3 separate regions of the Homo sapiens genome follow, and regions 1 and 2 are each linked to region 3. Evidence: promoter capture Hi-C in 16 types of primary human blood cells and fetal thymus (Javierre and others, 2016). All regions are on one chromosome and are shown on one strand. The core of a region is centred on a gene start or on the middle of the fragment in contact, and the rest is flanking DNA. Distances in the headings are between cores, read along the strand shown. Region 1 overlaps TTLL5 (tubulin tyrosine ligase like 5). Region 2 overlaps TTLL5 (tubulin tyrosine ligase like 5). Region 3 holds the start of TGFB3 (transforming growth factor beta 3).

What was found. Contacts are between HindIII fragments. The CHiCAGO score rates a contact against its expected background, and 5 or more counts as called.
Region 1: a contact is called between a fragment that was not itself captured here and the fragment with the promoter of TGFB3 in region 3, in 2 of 17 cell types (M1 macrophages and M0 macrophages). The highest score is 5.6, in M1 macrophages.
Region 2: a contact is called between a fragment that was not itself captured here and the fragment with the promoter of TGFB3 in region 3, in 2 of 17 cell types (endothelial precursors and M1 macrophages). The highest score is 5.6, in endothelial precursors.

What each region holds. Positions count from the first base shown.
Region 1 is chr14:75,736,994-75,740,966 of GRCh38, reverse strand. The region is part of intron 15 of TTLL5 (tubulin tyrosine ligase like 5); the gene reads right to left. Among named protein-coding and RNA genes, the nearest start is that of TTLL5, 78 kb to the right of the region's middle. The HindIII fragment of the contact is 1,041 bases long and covers 1,521-2,561 here.
Region 2 is chr14:75,766,839-75,770,831 of GRCh38, reverse strand. All of the region lies in intron 20 of TTLL5 (tubulin tyrosine ligase like 5), which reads right to left. Among named protein-coding and RNA genes, the nearest start is that of TTLL5, 110 kb to the right of the region's middle. The HindIII fragment of the contact is 2,123 bases long and covers 1,034-3,156 here.
Region 3 is chr14:75,980,745-75,983,564 of GRCh38, reverse strand. TGFB3 (transforming growth factor beta 3) reads left to right here and starts at 1,570. Exons shown (of 7, transcript NM_003239.5): 1 at 1,570-2,820. The coding sequence starts at 2,672. RefSeq lists silencers at 776-895, 1,026-1,265 and an enhancer at 936-995. The HindIII fragment of the contact is 14,571 bases long and covers 1-2,820 here.

The DNA of each region.
Region 1 (3,973 bases), core at 792-3,291, 240 kb after region 3:
CAAGATATCCTAAGACTATGTCATAATTGAGGGGCAAAAACAAAATTTGCTTGACAGAGAACACATGCAAAGAATAAAAATCTCCCAATGCAGTTTTACAAAGTTTGGAATTCTTCATTAAAAGCAAAGGAACTAGAAATAGCTCAATTTATATGTGATACATTTTACCATCTAAAAAACAACAGGTAAAATCAAGTTTAAAAGTAAAATGAATGCTATCAAATGAAAGAAAACAAATGGAAAAGACCACATTATCAATAAATCTGAATGGAAATGGACCAAAAAAATGGCTTCTAAGAGAAGGTTTAAACATACTGATAATCAGGGTATACTTTGAAATTGGCAGGTGGAGGGGAGAAAGCAAGTAGGCTTGTGTAACAGCATCTAGAAATTTGGAATAAATGTAAGCCAGCAGGTCTGAGAGACATGCATCCTGTTATTAAGGAAATTGGCTTTAAAAACAAACAAAACTTACCCAAACCACTTATAATTATGTTTGAAAAATCATGAAGAACTGAGGAGGTACCAGTTTAGAAAAAAACCAAATGAGGTACTAATCTTCAAAAATGTAAGAAGTATGCTCCTGGTGGTTACTGCCTGGTAAACCTAACTCGAATCCCTAGTAAAATAATGGAACAAATATTAAAAGGAAAAAATCCCTAATAACTTAGAGGATAATGGGCTTATGAAGAATAGTATGAAGAATGCTTTATTTTAAAACATGCTTTAAAAGTTTCATTTTTAGGACAAGATTTTTAAAAGGGGAACTATAGCAATATATTAAATGTCTTTGGATTTTAGAGAAGCATTTGAGAAAATTTCACAAAATTTTTATTCTAAATTATATTTCCAGTTAGGGGTTAGTGCCAGAATATAACACATCAACAAACACTGAAAACAGTGTAACTGCAAGATAAATAGCAGTGAATCAAGTTAGAAAGTGATTTCTGGAATGGGTATTAACTAAGCATTATTTAGAATCTTCATTAACATCTGGAAGGAAAAACAAAATAGCATTTGTGGATGATGGCAAATGTGAAAAACATGACTACAAACAGGTGAATATCAAAATAACAAGAGATCTTGACAATGGGAAAATCAAAAGACTCAAAAGTGTGAAGGGGAGTAAATCTTCTTAGTGTAAACTACATGTCTAGCACTTATCCTGAATATTTTACCTCCATTTTATCATTTCTTCCTCACTGTAACTTCATGTATATATTATTATCCCCATATGACAGATGTGGGAATTGAGCCTCAGAGAGGTAAGAGAACTTGCCCAAAGGTCTAATTGCTAGTTTTTGGCAGAGCTCAAATTTGAATCCAGGTCTATCGGACTGTAAAAGTCCATATTCTTTCCACAGTACCATGCCATACAATTTCTGGTGAGTGGAAAATTTGAACCATAGACATTAAAGAGAAAGGAGAAATATAGAGATAATGGTTTAAAAAGGAAAAGGCAGAAAAAGGGCAAAGGACTAAGAGAATTCACAATCTGACAGCAACAGAAAAAGAAAGCTTGACACAGTCTAACTGGTCAGAACAAAGAAATTTTTTTTTTTACTTAGCTCCAATGAAAATACTGTGAAGTTAAGAGTGCTTCGTTAACAGAAAGACAATGACAAAATAGAACATTGCAAAGTACAATAAAAGTCAAAGAATTCAACATGTATAAAGCTGGCTGAATAAAGCCAGAAAGGCTTTATGTCACGTAAGCAAGTATTCAGATACATTACTACTAAAGAGAGGTCTTGCTCTCCAACAAGCCTATTACAACCTACGGTAATTCAAGCAATGCAACTAGATGTAATGGAATTAAAATTGATAATGAGAAATTAAGATTAGAATTACATATCAAAGGCCGGGCATGGTGGCTCATGCCTGCAATCCCAGCACTTTGGGAGGGCCGAGGCAGGCAGATCGCTTGAGCTCAGGAGTTCCAGACCAACCTGGGTAACAGGTCAAAACCCTCATCTCTACCAAAAATACAAAAAATTAGCCAGGCATGGTGGTGTGCACCTGTAGTCCCAGCTAATCAGGAGGCCAAGGTGGGAGGATCACCTGAGCCCAGGAAGTCCAGGCTGTAGTGAGCTGTGATCGCGTCACTGCACTCCAGCCTGGGTGATGGAGTGACACGCTGTCTCAAATAAGTAAGTAAAAATAAATTAGAATTACCTATCAAAGACACTTCTTTACAGTCAAATGCCACAGGCTATGAAAGAGTACCCCTTTCCTAACGTACTCCTTTCAGTACATTAGTTCCAGGTATATTTAGAATATAAGCTCTTTGAAGTCAACAGCATTATTTTGTTTTGTTTTCTGCCATGGGAGCAACTAGCATACTTAGGTATTTACTAAATATAAAATACTACATATTATAGAGTTTCGAATTCCACCAACTAAGCACCAAAACTCATACTACAGAGCCACATTAATCAGTTACTAAATATTAGACAAGGCATCCAGTAAGTTATTTTTCATTTCTTGGATTCACATAAACCATATAAATCACTTTATCAGAAACAGTAGCTAAGAAAAGTTACATGTCAAGCATTCAAGCTTACCAGAAATTGCATCAGAGAGTACAAACGCCAAAATAAATATACTGGAGCTTTTTGCTAAACAACAGTTGCAGTGACACGTTTATATATGAGAATATCTATATCCCTCATACTAAAGCATCAAATAGCAGGCACAGGACCCCCACTGCTAGCCTATTACTTCAAAAAGAATTTTTTAAATCTGTGCAGAAGAAAGCAATGGTTAATCTCAAATACTGCTAACAAAAACAGTAAGAAAGCAAATGCTGATCATTCAGAAAGAAAGATGTTTGTATTTCAAAGGTAGCATCTGAGACACTATTGTGGCAGAGCTTCTAAGATTTATAAACTGCAGATCACTACATATTTGAAATGTCACCTGTTAAGGAACTCAAATACAACCCTACACCCAATGTGAAAACATTTCCAATATTAAGCTATAGACAACAGTATGTTTCATAAGATGTCTGAAAAAAAAAATTGAAGTTCATTTGTGAACTGGAAAATTTCCTTCCTGGATTATTTTGGTCAAAGTGATAGATATGCCTTCAAGCCCCTGTTCCTCATTTAAATTCAACTGTCTCCATCTCAGTATAATCACTATCAGGAAAAGAGGATCCCTAAGTTCCTGCATCCTCTACTCTTATATCCTATAACCAAAAAGACTTCTATGCATTCATTTTCATTCACTTTGTTATTAAACTGCGCAAAAAAATAGGTACATAAAAATATGTACCATGAAAAACTAAAGCTAAAAAACTTTCCATTTGGAGAATGAAAATAAAATTTGAAGAAGTCTCCAAAAGATCTAGAACTTACCTGCTTGGCCTTTGACGACTGAAACTGTGCAGATACTGGACGCTATAAAAGACAGAAAAATGGAATAAACCCTTATCTTCTCCTAATATGCCTACATTTTCCATCTCCTAGATCTATGATATAAAAAAGGAAAAAATAATCTCCAAGCAGAAACCAAAAGCAAGAGCCCTACACTTTGTGGTTGGAAGGTTAGAACATTTATTTTCTTTCACACTGCTTTCTCCTATGCCATATATATTCCAGCTTCAACTTCTCACCACTGAGGGCACAATCCTACTGCCAGATACTGAAGATCCTGAAGTCAACTAGTCCACCTGACAAACTGGTTTCACACAGTACACATGACCAATCTACAGTTCCTTTAGCCTTTATGTAAGTGTCCTGTAGGCTGCTTATGGATGTAATCATGCCATTACCTACCAGTTGGCAAAACAAGCATTGAACAGATTTTCTAGAGTTTGCAAAGAGTTGCCAATAAAGCTGACAGGCAAACTAAGAAAAGGGACCAATTCATTTAAGACTGGCAATACAGCTACCTCTAGAAGTGAAACTTGGCAGAAACTGTGTTAAAGCTGCACAGAAATGTTCATGATCCTTTATACATAATTCTGTGG
Region 2 (3,993 bases), core at 846-3,345, 210 kb after region 3:
TTTGGCACAGATGAACTGATGGGCCAGGCAGGACAAGCCCAGATGTTCAGTGGGCGAAAGAAATCCTCAAGTCTTGTGAAAAGCACCTTAGCAACATCATTAAAGAACGCAGCTATTTTCTGCCTGGTGGCCTAGGCTGGAAATAAGGAAATCTGATCAAGCTATAGTTTGGAAGACAGAAGTACCAGAGAGACACTGATGATTTTCACCTCAGCTGCTGTTCATGGCAGATCTGTTTTCTTTCAGGCCAGATTTTGGTTACTTCAGCTGATCGGCCTTCTGATACTGTAGCCAAAATTATATCAGCGAAGATTAGGGCCCAACACAAACTTTGTTTACAATCCCCACAAATGCAATCACTGAATGCTTTCTACTGACTGTTTTCACAAGGTTAGGAGGTAGGATTTGGCTAAAGTAAGCTGCACATCTTAAGAGGGCTCCAGTCTAGCTTCCATGTGTATGTTGGAGAATTGGAGGGCAAGGGAGTCAGGCTGGGGAGAAGATTTGCTTTTGAGAGTTTAATACATAAGAGCTTCAGAACATGAACTAAGAATAAGGCTACATCTTTGTTACTAGCAGGGATGGTTTTTATGGGAGCATAATATGGTTTTGAAATAATACACTTATATTTTCTTTTTTTTTTTTTTTTTTTCGAGACAGAGTTTTGCTCTTGTCACCCAGGCTGGAGTGCAGTGGTGTGATCTTGGTTCACTGCAACCTCTGCCTCCCAGGTTCAAGCGATTCTCCTGCCTCAGCCTCCCAAGTAGCTAAGATTACAGGTGCTCACTACTATGCCCAGCTAATTTTTGTATTTTAATAGAGATAGAGTTTCACCATGTTGATCAGGTTGGTCTCAAACTCCTGACCTCAGGTGATCCACCCACCTCAGCCTCCCAAAGTGCTGGGATTACAGGCATGAGCCTGCACGCCTGGCCATAAATGTACATTTTCAACTGTTCCTCAAAGACAATAATTATACTCTTGTTTACCCAGAGAGCATATATCACTTTACCCTGAATCAATCCTATAAGCTTTGTCTCCACAACAAATTATTCTCAAGTCAAAATAAATTTAAAAGATCCTCAGTTTGGGTCAATAAATTCACCTACAATATAATGAGCAAGAAATAGCATGTTTCAGACACCTTCAAATGTAGCAGAATATCCAATTCCACGGATTCATCCCTTTATACTAAAACTTGAAGATCTTTTAAATAAGGGGATTATTGCTCATAAGTTGAGACTTCAATCATTGTTTTGTTGTGAATCACTGTTGCAAAGCAAATGAACAAATATTGAGGTTTCCATTTCCATAAACGTCACGAATGTTAATTCTGAGACTGTCTCTAAGGTATTGGACACATTGTTCAGCTAGTCACTTGCAACAAACCCCCCAAAAGATGAAAGAATAAAAACCAGAAAGAATAAAAACCAAAGAAACCTATTTTAAAAAACAAAAGGTTATGCAGATGCTCAGTATATAAGATATGCAACAATGACGCGATCCTTAGAGTTTTGAACCCTGGCTGTGCGTGGACTTTCCCCAAACCCCTAAGTAGCCTCTGAGACACTTCACCGAACAATGAGCAGCTTTAGGGAACACAGTCTGAAAACCACTGATTGACACTAACGCAGCCTGCAATTTTAACAGTTTACTCATTCAAAGCGAGAGCCACAAGATTCATGAAGAAATAATTTATTTCTACAACAACTAAGCAGAATGTTATTGCTGGAAAGGACCTTAGAATACAGTCCAGTGGTTTTCAAATGCTCTATTTTCAATTCAGTGAAATCTTCTTTCCCTCTAGGAAGAAGTTTGAAAAAACACTTGTCTAACTCCACATCTTGGATTGACAGAAAAGGAAACTGAGGCCTATAGAAGCTCTTTGACTTGTCTATGACCACACGGCCAGTTGGTAGCACTAAAACAGCCAGAGCTCAGGTCTTCTGACTGAGTTTAGCATATTCTATTCTCCACTGACAGAACTATTCTTATTCTCCATGACACTGTTCCAAACCTTAACTCTATCCCCTGCTACTCCAATGTCACCCTCCAGCCTTTCAGTATAAGAACTGGCCTCTAATTTAGAAATAAAGACTATCATGCATAAACGGCTAAACTTCCTTGCTCTTAAACTTCTGTCAACTTCATTCATCCCATAGCACTTTCTTTCTGACTGATAGGAAGAGATACTCCCTCCTCTGGCCTCTTCCCACCTTCCTTTAGTACTCTTCTCTACCAATATGTCCATTTCTGCATTTCTAATCCTCTTATCCTCAAATCCTTCCCCTTAGTCTATAAACAACCTCCAGAACCTCTTCTCAAAAGAAAAAAAAAAAATCCGTTTCTTTTAGCTGGCTGTCTCCCTGATGCATTCTTACCTTCCTTTCATTGCCAAACCCTTAGACAGTTAGTTCACACTTGCTTTCTTATTTTCTCCACTCACAACTGGTCTTCCACCTACTCAGTTGGCCCTAGGTCACAAATCCAGAAGTCTCTTTTCACTATTCATCCTAACTAGGGCTGTTTGAGGCTCTACAGACCTGAAATGCTCATTCTGCAGCTTTTACCATACTACTCCTTCCTGATCTTATGTCTATTGCTCTAACTGCTACATCTTGACCTTTTTACTGACTTACCCATTGAACAGTGGTATTCCCCAGGGCTCAATTCTTTTTTTATCCTTGCTGAACCAAATAAATTTGTGAACAATCTTATCCATTCGCAAGACTTTACCTACCAACTATACAATCCTGTTCAACCTTGATCAACAAAGCTGTCCACCTGTCTATTGGACTTTAGCCCAGAACCCTTCTTCCTTACTACATCTTAAATCAAACTCATTGTTTTTAACATGAAACCAACTCCTATGTTCCTTATATTGACCAAAGGCACCACCAAGTTTCCAAATGTGAAAAACTTAGTCTCATCAATTTTACTTTGCAAATTTTACTAAGTCCATCCCATTCTCTCCACTCCTAAAGCCATTACTCTGATCAAGGCCTTCATCTTCCTGGCTCTGGACAATTCTAACAGTCCCTAACTCACCCCCCTGCCTTTAGTTTCACTATCCCACAATGCAAGCACGATTTACTTTCTAAAACAAGATCTCACCGTATCATTTATCTGCTTAAAAGTCATCTAGAAAATAAAGCTTAGGCTCCTCTTACGGCCCTTCACAATCTAACAACATCCAATTTTTTAGTCTCATTTCTTACCATGCTCTTCTCCTTATATAATTCCTCTAGTCTGTATTTTGTAAACACACCAAGCTCATTACGATGTCTGGGCTTTTGTACTTGCTATTCTGCTGGGAGTATTCTGCCTCCTACTATTCACACGACTGACTCCTCATCATTCAGGACTTACCTCAAAGGTTACCTCTTCATGCCAGATCACTGCAATTAAGTAACTCTGCCCAATTACATTCTAACATTACACCATCTTATTGTCCTGACAGCATTTCTCACGACCTGAAATGACCTTGTTTCTTTGTTAACTGTCATTCTTCCCCACTAGACTGTAAACTCCAGGCCTATCTTGGTCCCCACAGTAATGTGATATGGCCTAGCACAACTGGCATAGGGCAGGTGCTCAATAAAAACTCACTGAGGGACTTAATGAATGACTGTATTATCACACCTCTATGTCTTTTTTTTTTTTTTTTTAAGATGGAGTTTCACTCTTGTTGCCCAGGCTGGAGTGCAATGGCACAATCTTGGCTCACTGCAAACTCCACCTTCCAGGTTCAAGCAATTCTCCTGCTTCATCCTCCCGAGTAGCTGGGCTTACAGGCATGCACCACCACACCCAGCTAATTTTGTATTTTTAGTAGAGACAGGGTTTCTCCATGTTGGTCAGGCTGGTCTCGAACTCCTGACCTTAGGTGATCCGACCACCTCGGCCTCCCAAAGTGCTGCAATTATAGGTGTGAGACACTGAGCTTGGCCACCTCTACGTCTTTATTGCCTCTACCTAGCACTCCCACATTTA
Region 3 (2,820 bases), core at 321-2,820:
TGAGGGCAGGAGTTTTGTTTCGTTCACTGATATTCTTCACAGAGCCTAGAATAGTGCCTGGTATATAGTAAACATTAAACTTTTTCTGAAATTTCAGAGGCAGTATAGCATAGTAATTAAGTCCAGAATCTGGCAACGTCCTGGGTCCAAATCCCAACAGCTGACACCTAATAACTATGTGACCTTGGGCAAGTTACTTTTAAAGTTTCTACCCCTAGGTTTCCCATTGGTTTTGCAAATGAAAGTAATGCCTACCCAAGCTAGATAGCCTGTGTAAAATATCGCCTCCATCACTCACAAGCAGTGTGGTCTGTAAAAAAAAAAACAAAAAACTCTATGCCTCAGTTTCCTCATCCGTAAAGTGACCCACCGCTGTGCTGGGATACAGAGAACAGCCCCTTCAGTTAGTGGCCTGGAAGCCAGACCTCTCAGAAAGGGTCCAGGAAGGCTGGAGTGAGATGGGGTGGGAGCGGCACTCACTCTCAGGAAAGTTCAGTTCAGAGGCAAGCCCTGTGTTGCGGGGTGCGGGGAGCCACGTGCCCTACCCTCCCTTGGCTGCTCGTGGGAAAAGGCCTAGAGGTTCGGGCCGAGAAGAGGAGCGAAAGCACAGAGCCGACTTCCCCTCACCCATCTGGGAAATGGGCTCGGGCCAACTGCTGACTTCGCGCTCGCTGGCGCAGCTCCCTGCGGAGACCTCGGCGGGGAGGGAGGCTGAACATCTGGATGACATTTCTGCGAGAGCGGCTCCGGAGCGGCGGTCGGGGAGGGAGAGGTGCGCTCGTGCGCACGTCGGGCCGGGAGGGAGGCGATTCCTCGGGGCCTGGGTCTTGTTTTTCTCGCTCTCTACCGCAGCCCCTTCTCCCGCCCCTCAGCCCCCACCCCGCAGCCCCCAGCCCCCGAGCCTCCCCGGCTCCCGACCAGCCGAGCTCCTTCACTGGCGGCCTCGCCTCGCCAGAGGGCACCCTCGATCTTCCGGAAAACGCCACCATTTTTCACTGCCCCTGGAGCGTCTCCAGGCTTCTGCCCGCCTCCCGACTCCGATCTTGTCAATGAAGAATCGGGCCAGGATCGCCGCGGAGCGGACGCCGACCCTCCGACCCGGCTCGCAGGCTGGGAGTCCCCTCTGCGAGGCTGGCATGGCCGCCCCTACCGGGTCCCGCGCCCTCTGCGGACCCTGCCCCGGGTTGGGCCTGGCCCGCGGGCGGCCCCGGGACCGGGGGACCAGGAGGGAGAGTAGACGCGGGCCGCGGACGGCGCGGACTGACAGCTGGCGAGAGGGCGCCGGGGCTGGGGGAAAGGGAGGGAGGGGGCTCATCGGAGTAACTTTCCAGAAAAACAGCCAACGTGTGGCAGGAGTGATTCCAAGAGGGGAAAAAAAGTTCAGCTACCACGTCGAACGAGAGGACTCGCAAAGTATTTTTCAAAAGGGCTCGGCTTTTCCTGTGCCTGTTTAAAACATTAACATCGTGCAGCAAAAGAGGCTGCGTGCGCTGGTCCCTCCCTCCCCCACCCCAGGCCAGAGACGTCATGGGAGGGAGGTATAAAATTTCAGCAGAGAGAAATAGAGAAAGCAGTGTGTGTGCATGTGTGTGTGTGTGAGAGAGAGAGGGAGAGGAGCGAGAGGGAGAGGGAGAGGGAGAGAGAGAAAGGGAGGGAAGCAGAGAGTCAAGTCCAAGGGAATGAGCGAGAGAGGCAGAGACAGGGGAAGAGGCGTGCGAGAGAAGGAATAACAGCTTTCCGGAGCAGGCGTGCCGTGAACTGGCTTCTATTTTATTTTATTTTTTTCTCCTTTTTATTTTTTAAAGAGAAGCAGGGGACAGAAGCAATGGCCGAGGCAGAAGACAAGCCGAGGTGCTGGTGACCCTGGGCGTCTGAGTGGATGATTGGGGCTGCTGCGCTCAGAGGCCTGCCTCCCTGCCTTCCAATGCATATAACCCCACACCCCAGCCAATGAAGACGAGAGGCAGCGTGAACAAAGTCATTTAGAAAGCCCCCGAGGAAGTGTAAACAAAAGAGAAAGCATGAATGGAGTGCCTGAGAGACAAGTGTGTCCTGTACTGCCCCCACCTTTAGCTGGGCCAGCAACTGCCCGGCCCTGCTTCTCCCCACCTACTCACTGGTGATCTTTTTTTTTTTACTTTTTTTTCCCTTTTCTTTTCCATTCTCTTTTCTTATTTTCTTTCAAGGCAAGGCAAGGATTTTGATTTTGGGACCCAGCCATGGTCCTTCTGCTTCTTCTTTAAAATACCCACTTTCTCCCCATCGCCAAGCGGCGTTTGGCAATATCAGATATCCACTCTATTTATTTTTACCTAAGGAAAAACTCCAGCTCCCTTCCCACTCCCAGCTGCCTTGCCACCCCTCCCAGCCCTCTGCTTGCCCTCCACCTGGCCTGCTGGGAGTCAGAGCCCAGCAAAACCTGTTTAGACACATGGACAAGAATCCCAGCGCTACAAGGCACACAGTCCGCTTCTTCGTCCTCAGGGTTGCCAGCGCTTCCTGGAAGTCCTGAAGCTCTCGCAGTGCAGTGAGTTCATGCACCTTCTTGCCAAGCCTCAGTCTTTGGGATCTGGGGAGGCCGCCTGGTTTTCCTCCCTCCTTCTGCACGTCTGCTGGGGTCTCTTCCTCTCCAGGCCTTGCCGTCCCCCTGGCCTCTCTTCCCAGCTCACACATGAAGATGCACTTGCAAAGGGCTCTGGTGGTCCTGGCCCTGCTGAACTTTGCCACGGTCAGCCTCTCTCTGTCCACTTGCACCACCTTGGACTTCGGCCACATCAAGAAGAAGAGGGTGGAAGCCATTAGGGGACAGATCTTGAGCAA